Linked DNA regions of Homo sapiens: regions 1 and 3 are each linked to region 2. The links are contacts of gene promoters, found by promoter capture Hi-C in blood cells and fetal thymus (Javierre and others, 2016). All regions are on one chromosome and are shown on one strand. The core of a region is centred on a gene start or on the middle of the fragment in contact, and the rest is flanking DNA. Distances in the headings are between cores, read along the strand shown.

Evidence for each region. Contacts are between HindIII fragments. The CHiCAGO score rates a contact against its expected background, and 5 or more counts as called.
Region 1: a fragment that was not itself captured here is called in contact with the fragment with the promoter of UBQLN1 in region 2 in 1 of 17 cell types (activated CD4 T cells); the score reaches 7.0 in activated CD4 T cells.
Region 3: a fragment that was not itself captured here is called in contact with the fragment with the promoter of UBQLN1 in region 2 in 2 of 17 cell types (non-activated CD4 T cells and naive CD8 T cells); the score reaches 8.2 in non-activated CD4 T cells.

What each region holds. Positions count from the first base shown.
Region 1 is chr9:86,349,608-86,352,307 of GRCh38, reverse strand. All of the region lies in intron 2 of TUT7 (terminal uridylyl transferase 7), which reads left to right. Among named protein-coding and RNA genes, the nearest start is that of TUT7, 3.5 kb to the left of the region's middle. The HindIII fragment of the contact is 2,336 bases long and covers 232-2,567 here.
Region 2 is chr9:83,706,636-83,709,335 of GRCh38, reverse strand. It overlaps UBQLN1 (ubiquilin 1), which reads left to right and starts at 1,378. Exons shown (of 11, transcript NM_013438.5): 1 at 1,378-1,836. The coding sequence starts at 1,657. It overlaps UBQLN1-AS1 (UBQLN1 antisense RNA 1), which reads right to left and starts at 1,501. Exons shown (of 2, transcript NR_135839.1): 1 at 1,024-1,501. RefSeq lists enhancers at 576-1,464, 1,628-1,697, 1,465-2,355. The HindIII fragment of the contact is 7,028 bases long and covers 1-2,700 here.
Region 3 is chr9:85,741,857-85,744,556 of GRCh38, reverse strand. It overlaps AGTPBP1 (ATP/GTP binding carboxypeptidase 1), which reads left to right and starts at 2,603. Exons shown (of 26, transcript NM_001330701.2): 1 at 2,603-2,700. RefSeq lists a silencer at 2,280-2,700. The HindIII fragment of the contact is 1,304 bases long and covers 799-2,102 here.

The sequences.
Region 1 (2,700 bases), core at 150-2,649, 2.6 Mb before region 2:
AATGTGTTCATAATATAAATGACAGAATATAAAGCTTTTTTTAAAAAAAAAACTTATTTGTTGATGTAAAAACACAGTATACACTGCGTATATCTCCTGCCACAAGAGATATATCTTTTGGATGTAGTGTCAGTGTCCCGAGATGGATAATCTGAGATCTTTGTTTTTCAAAAGGGATCGTGACAAACAGGTTGAGAAACAAGTTTAGAAAGTCAGAAATAGATTCAAGCTTTGCTGTTTGGTTTCAGTAAGACCAAAACTAATTTCTCGGTGCCCTCACATGCTTGGTTAATTGCCCCAAAGGGATAATAAGGAGATAATATGTTTTTCTAAAAGTAAAAAGTAGATTTTATCCATGTGGCAACGATTTCTGCAAACAGGAAGGTTATTTTTATCTAATGGGAGATATATACCGAAATGAAATAAAGTCACAAATTGGATGGAAAAAATGAAACAATATCACAGTTGGAAACATGGACTTGTAAGTTTAGTGGCTGAAAGCGTTTTTTAGTGGTTGTATAGAATGTGTTTCAAACTGGCCAGCACTTTTAAATAAATTTTTTTAGTTTAAATGCATTCAGGGAATATGGACACTTTCTAGATCACCCGATGCCTTTTCTCTTCATGTTATCTCACAGTGGCCAGTTCATACACTGGTTACCTATAAGGTGTTTGAATTTGTGTCCCATGCGTATAGAATACTTAAAAGCCAAAAGGTCGTCTTTTATCTTTACAAGGTCTTAGGATAAAAATGAAAGTCTCAAGCACTTATTAATATTAAATGGGGGGAAATGTGCTACTTGATTTTTTTTCTTTTTTCACAGATACTTCTAGTTGTCAGATCTGTTTATTTATATTTTATTTTATTTTTTGAGACGGAGTCTCGCTCTGTCACCCAGGCTGGAGTACAGTGGCGCGATCTTGGCTCACTGCAACCTCTGCCTCCTGGGTTCAAGCGATTCTCCTGTCTCATCCCCCAAAGTAGCTGGGACTACAGGCACATGCCACCACATCAGGCTAATTTTTGTATTTTTAATAGAGACAGGGTTTCACCATGTTGGCCTGACTGGTCTCAAACTCCTAACCTCCAGTGATCCACCCACCTTGGCCTCCCAAAGTGCTGGGATTACAGGCGTGAGCCACCACATTCAGCCTGATTTTTTTTTTTTTTTTTTGAGACAGTCTCACTGTGTCACCCAGGCTGGAGGTGCAGTGATGTGACCTCCTCTCACTGTGGCCTCTGCCTCCCAGGATCAAGCGGTTCTCATGTCTCAGCCTCCCAAGTAGCTGGGACTACAGGTGCACACCACCATGCCCAGCTAATTTTTCTGTTTTTTAATAGAGATAGGGTTTCTCCCTGTTGGCCAGGCTGGTCTTGAACTCCTGACCTCAAGTGATCGACCTGCCTCTGCTTCCCAAAGTGCTGGGATTACAGGCGTGAACTACCGCGCCTGGCCCTCAGATATTTTTAAATTTGAAAATTAAGAGTATATATTAATATCAAGTAGCAGAAACAGAATGAAGTGTTATAAAGGCGTTAAGTAGTAGGGAGACATAAAACTTAAATCTTTAAGCTAGAAATAGCTTGAGGAATTATCTGATGCAGTACTCTGTTGTAATATATCAAAAATGGAATCACAGTTTTACAAATCAGGCAGCTGCAGCTCAGAGAGGTTAAATTTCCACAGACCTGTTTATGCAGCGCGGTAAATGAGGAAGTAGAACTAAAATTGGGGACTCTGCTACTCTGGCCATTAACTCAGCCTCGCTGGACCTGAAATCCTGACGGCGGAGCCGAATATTTCTTGATAATTTCTGGGCTTTTGATTTGTGTTTTTCTTTATTAAAAATTGTGTATATTTAAGTGTTTCTGTATTACTGTCCAGGTGGGATGTGGGTATTTAATTTTGTTACCTATAGTCTTGTAGAAGTTGATCTTGAAAACCATTTCATTTTATTATTATTATTCTCTTTTTTGAGATGGAGTCTCGCTCTGTAGCCCAGGCTGGAGTGCAGTGGTGCGATCTTGGTTCACTGCAACCTCCATCTCCCAGGTTCAAGCAATTCTCTTGCCTCAGCCTCCTGAGTGGCTGGGACTACAGGCACGTGCCACCACACCTAGCTAATTTTTGTATTTTTAGTAGAGTTGGGGTTTTAGCATGTTGGCCAGGGGTAGTCTCGATACCCTGACCTCATGATCTGCCTGCCTTGACGTCCCAAAGTGTTGGGATTACAGGTGTGAGCCACTGCACCCGGCTGAAAAGCATTTTAAAAAGAAAGTTTATAGATCAAAAATTTGCAACTAGACATTAAAAGGAACTGTTGGCTGACCACAAAAACTTTTATATGTTTTCTTATTTTATGTGTATTCTTATAAAAGCAACTAAAGAAGTTGCTTTTAAGTGTATTTGAATAGGAAATGCATTTTGCTATTTTTTTATTGGAGGTAATTCAAAAGTTTGCATGTTTTTGCTGTATGACATACAGGTATATGCTTTCACAGTTATTAAGTAAAGAATTATTCAGTTTCTATCCCTTGAAAATCTTCATATAGGAAGCATTAAGCTTCGGTATAACATTATTTAGTTTAGAGAGATTCAACTGAAAGTATAAACTAAAAAGGATCTCATTAAAGAGATCGAAATTTCTTTATCAAAATTGTGTCTTAATAAGGAAGGGTATTATTCAACAATGTGAGAA
Region 2 (2,700 bases), core at 129-2,628:
TTGGTTGTCCAGTTGTGGCACTTTCTAGCTTTAGAAGCAGTGATCATCTCACACCTGGACATAACCAAGTAGTCATCCTTCATTAAGCAGAAGGCCTTGTTATTGAGCCATGCTGCCAGAAATTTAGGTGATATCAAATGATGTCTATACTGAAATCGATACCCTCAGGATTCTCTTAGACCCAGATTCCATAGAGCTCTGCTAAAAAGTCGTGTTTATGTAACAGTATTTATTCTCAGAACAGGGTTGGACGGCTTAGGAGCAGAAAGGCAGAATGTATCTTTGCGGATTTGGGTCATAGTGGGCTGTCAGGATTTAAATTGTGCAACATTGATTAATAATGGGCTGGTTTGTACATTCCTTGCAAGTCATCTTTAAAAGCCAATGACGTCATTTCAAATTAGGATTCTCAGAGATAATTTCTCTCTGTATTACACTGAAAATAATTTTGGAACTATCCTTAATGCCACTTAAAGCCTGAAATTGACCAGTAACTTAATTTGATAGAATATAAGGCGAACACCTCAACTATATTAAATTGTCCCATTTGGGTGGACACTCCTCGGGCACCCTGTTCCGCCCTACACACAGATAATCTGGGGGCGCTCGCGCACAGCTGTCATCGTAGCAGCAGAGGCCACTGTCAATACAGGTTGCCTGACTGATCGTCTGACCAAACCGGGCTAACCCGAGGGCGGTAAATAAGCTCTGGCCATGAAGCAATGACTCCGCAGGATTGCGCAGGGCAGTCACGGGCGTTCACTCCATTTTCTGTTCGTTGTGCTGAGGCCTTTCCACCATTAACTTACCCCAACTCCCCCGCATAGGGCAATACGACCCCTCCAAATATCAAACGCTAAGCATATTAAAATAACAAAATACCTCGCCGCTATTTTATCACCAGACCCTCCTCCCAGCGGGGAACGCAGAGTAGACAGAGAGGCAAGGGAGGGCAAGGCGATTGTGACAGCGCGGAGGGGTGAACACGGCCCAGCTGGGCATGAGGTAAGGTGGGGAGACTACCTGGACAGCAAGCGCGCAGGCGCAGCCGCGGCCGCAGGGCCCACTGGTCCCTTTCTAGTAATTTCGCTAACCGTGACGTCATCTCGGTGCGCCGTTACAGCGCTTAACTGGAAACTGCGATTTAGTTTTTGGTGAAAGGAGTGGAAAAAAACCATGAACTGACCTACCCCGCCCCATTTTGCTTTTAGTCCTTCACACTGGCTTCGCCTGCACTTTGGGCAATGGAGCGGGAAAGGAAAAGGCACGCAGGCTGAGCTCAAAGTCGCGCCAGCCGGGGATGACTCGGCGACGCCGCCAGGCGCGTTACCCGGCGTGCTCCGCGCGGCGCCGGCGAAGGGACGTGGGGGAAGGGGCAGGGAGGAGGAAGCGGTGGCTGCTGCGGATGTCGGTGTGAGCGAGCGGCGCCTGAACACACGGCGGCTGCCGAGCGCCTGACCCGGGCCTGCGCCAGAGCCTGCACCGAGCTCCGGGGCCCCACACCCGCTACGGTGGCCCTGCGCCCGTTGCTACTGAGGCGGCGTGCTCTGCATTCTTCGCTGTCCAGGCCTGCCGGCTCTGGTGTCTGCTGGCTCCTCCTTGCTCGCCTGCTCCCTCCTGCTTGCCTGAGTCACCGCCGCCGCCGCCGCCACAGCCATGGCCGAGAGTGGTGAAAGCGGCGGTCCTCCGGGCTCCCAGGATAGCGCCGCCGGAGCCGAAGGTGCTGGCGCCCCCGCGGCCGCTGCCTCCGCGGAGCCCAAAATCATGAAAGTCACCGTGAAGACCCCGAAGGAAAAGGAGGAATTCGCCGTGCCCGAGAATAGCTCCGTCCAGCAGGTGAGGCCGCCTGGGGCTCGGGCCGGGATGGGGGTGGCGGCAGGACCTCCGCCCGCCGCCCCAGGAGACCTTTTGGAAGGGCCTGGGAGAGGGGTCGTCCTCGGCCATTCTCCCGGGCGTCGTCCCAAATTAGATCACACCCAAGTTCGTGGGTTTGCGCCTTGGGACACCGCAATGGTTTGTGGCGTGGCGGCGCGGCCTGTTTGTGGGACGGGCTGATGCCGCTTTTCTCGGAGCCTTCCTTCTCTGGTATCCGCCGACCCTCAGCCTCCTCCCCCAGTTCCCCGCCCTCCGTCGCCTCCCCTCCAACTCCTCACAAAGGAAAGGGACCCACCGCCAGCCTCCGGGCGGGGTGGAGGCTGGGCGGGGGCGAGGGTTCGCTTTAGCTCAGGCTGCGGTTTTGTTTCATGAATTAAAAAGGGGTGGGTGGGATCCTCGTTGTTTTACGTGCCTGCTTGTTAAGGTGGGTTTTGGGGTGAGGTGCATGTGTATATTTAGTTCTGCATTTTAACTCCTGAAATCTTTCCCACCTTGCAACCTTTAAAAAAAAATTATGACGTAGAAACTGTTTTTAGCTCCATCTTAAGTAATAGTGATAGTACTAGGTTTAAGGAGAAAAGTGAATGACTTTCTTTCACTGATGACTTGCTCTTTCCCTTTTAGTATGTTTATCATCTCTTAGATGCCAATCATTGGGTAGGTTTTTGTTTGATTTTAGAGGGGCGATAGCGATGTTGATATTAGCGGTTGCAATCAAATAAAAGAAAATCGGAGTGAATGCAGAATATTACTTAAACTTGGTTCAGGAATACAAATCTTGCAGTTAATTAAGATTCTTGGTGGAATTTAACAAATAATTTTAGT
Region 3 (2,700 bases), core at 201-2,700, 2.0 Mb before region 2:
TTTTGCTTAACAAATTCTACTTCACTCACTCTTCAAGTGTCCGTGTACCTGATTTTTCCTGGTCTTGAGACAAGAACCTGGATCTAGCTGAGCTAAGGAGGAAACAATCCTGGATCAACATGGTTTATTGCCATGTGAAGATAATTTATTTTCTTAGGTTCACAATGTATAGAGGCAGAGAATTAAGAGAATAATTTCACAGGGAATACACTCCATAGATGATGTTTATTAACTACATAGTGAGTGAGTTCCAAAACTATTAAAACCTAGTTGTTCAATTAAGATTGAAGCAGACCTCTGTGGAAAGTAAAGTCTGATTAAGGATTGAGGTGGGTGTGGTATTAATGCCTGTAATCTCAGCATTTTGGGAGGCTAAGGCAGGAGGACTGCTGAGCCCAGGAGTTTGAGACCAGCCTGGGTGACTTAGGGAGACCCCGACTCTACAAAAACAATTAAAAAAATTAGCCAGGTGTGGTGACGTGTGCCTGTAGTCCCAGATACTCAGTGGGAGGCTGAGGTAGTACGATTCATTAAGCCTGGGAGGTCAAGGCTGCAGTGAGCCATGATTGCACTACTGTATTACAGCCTTGGCAACAGAGTGAGAGTCTTGTCTCAAAAAAAAAAAAAAAAGAAAGAAAAAGAAAAAGAAAAAGAAAAACAACTGAGGTGTACCTTTACCTTTTGGAGGCTGAGGTTCTCGGGAGAGATGGTGTCCAACATACAGGAGATCGGTGAGGATATGCAAGGTCCCACGATGCTAGAGGGCTGTGCCAGTGTTGGTGGACAGGCTTCAAAGCTTAAAGGCTAACAGGGTGTGGCCCTGTTGCAGCCTGAGCTGGTAGCGTTCAGGGAAGTGGCTGACAGAGCACGCGATCTGCCACCCGCTGAGCTCTCAAAGTATCTTGCAAATTCTTGAGTTTATATGTATTTCGAAATCCTGTAGTTGAGGTCAGTAACATATATATGGTGTTTGATAAGGTGTAACGTCACATTAGCTAGGAGAGGTGAAGTTTATTTCAACTTCATACACGTGGGATCTGATGAAGAGTGATGTCACATTCCCAGGGGGTGGGGGAGTAGCTCTAAGTTCTTAATTACCGCAAAACATAAATCACTCACTCTTGTGGCAAACTATGTGATTGGAATCATTTCAAAGCTATGTAATGCTGCTATTTATCTTGTGTGGGTTAATCTCCTGGGTCTGTGTTGTGGTCATCAAACTATGCTAACAGTGCTTGTGAAAGTGGGATTCAAATTCCACAAACACACACATCCACATAATATCTTCCTATATTGCAGGTTGACTCATTTAGAAACATGTTCTTTAAGAAAAGTTTCAGGTATATTACATACATATTTAGCATTATTGTAAAATTATTACATTATTATTGGGTATTTTCAGATAATACGTTTCTGATTGGGTGGTTTGGGGTGGTGGTTGTTTCAAAATTATTTTAAATACCGTAACCTATCTTTTAGTGCTCACGATGAGGGAAACTACGATGTTTATAAAATGGCAGTTTCTTGTTCATCTGAATAAAGACATCTACCAAGGGCAAACTGTAAGAAGCACTGTGGTGTACCTTGGGTTACTTTTTGAATTGCTTTCACACCTGCTTAATTTTATTTGAACAAGATCATAAAACAAAACAAAAATCTCACAGTTCTCAATGCATTCCCTTATCTAGTTGTGATATTACATTCCTTACCATAAACAGTAGCAAACATGTTCTTGTGCAACGTGAAAAAGTAAATGATGTCAGTATTTATTTGCAATACATTGCAGTACACTGAAGTACAGTCAAAACAGAAGGGGGTGTATTAGTAATTTCTCTGACACATTACTTTGGCTCAGATAAAACATTCCGCCTTTGCCTTCAGTAGCCAACTTAGCATTACCGTTTTGATTATATGCAGGCACTTTTTCAAAAAACAGTAAATCAGCATGCTATTTTGTTCGCTGCAGCACTAGGCATCTAATTTACTGAGATTTGGCCACAAGGTGCAATCCTGTTGTTTTCTGGGAGCCCGATTGTAGTAACAGCATGTCCCTTCCAGCCTCTTATTATGGACCCTCCTTGAGGTCAGGAAAGGTCTAAGCTTTACCGCAGTCCCCAGCGTTTGATGCGACCCCGGGATCACGTGGGGAGCTTTAAGAACCCTTCCTAAGAAAGTGACTGATTGATGGCGGGGGAGGGGGTGGGCGCGGGCTTAGTTCCGGGAAAAGGCTGGGGCCCTCGTTGGGAGTGTACAGAAAGATGACTTGAAGAACGTGGGGAGTCGCTCGCAGTTCGGTACGGAGGGGCGGTGGCCGGGGCTGCTGGGTACAAGGGACCGGCAGCGCGCGGAACACCCGCCCCTAATTCCCGCTCCCGTGCGCGCTCCGCCCCCACGCGCGCGCTCCCTCCCGTCAGGCGCGCAGAGAGGCGGGGCGCAGCGCGCACGGAGGTAACAAGGGACGCGGCGGGAAGAGGGCGTGCGCTCCGCCCCGCCCCTTTCGCGGCCTCGCACGCCCCGCCCCCACTCCCTGCGCGTGCTGGGAGCCGGCTGGCAAGGCGTGCGGTGGGCGGGGCGCCGCGCTGACGTTGCCCGGGATGCGGACAGGTTCCGCCGCCTCCAGCGCCGCCGCCGCAGCTGCCGCCGCCGCCGCCTCCGCCTCGCCTGCCACCGGGGTTTGTATGAAAACACCGGGCGGCGGGC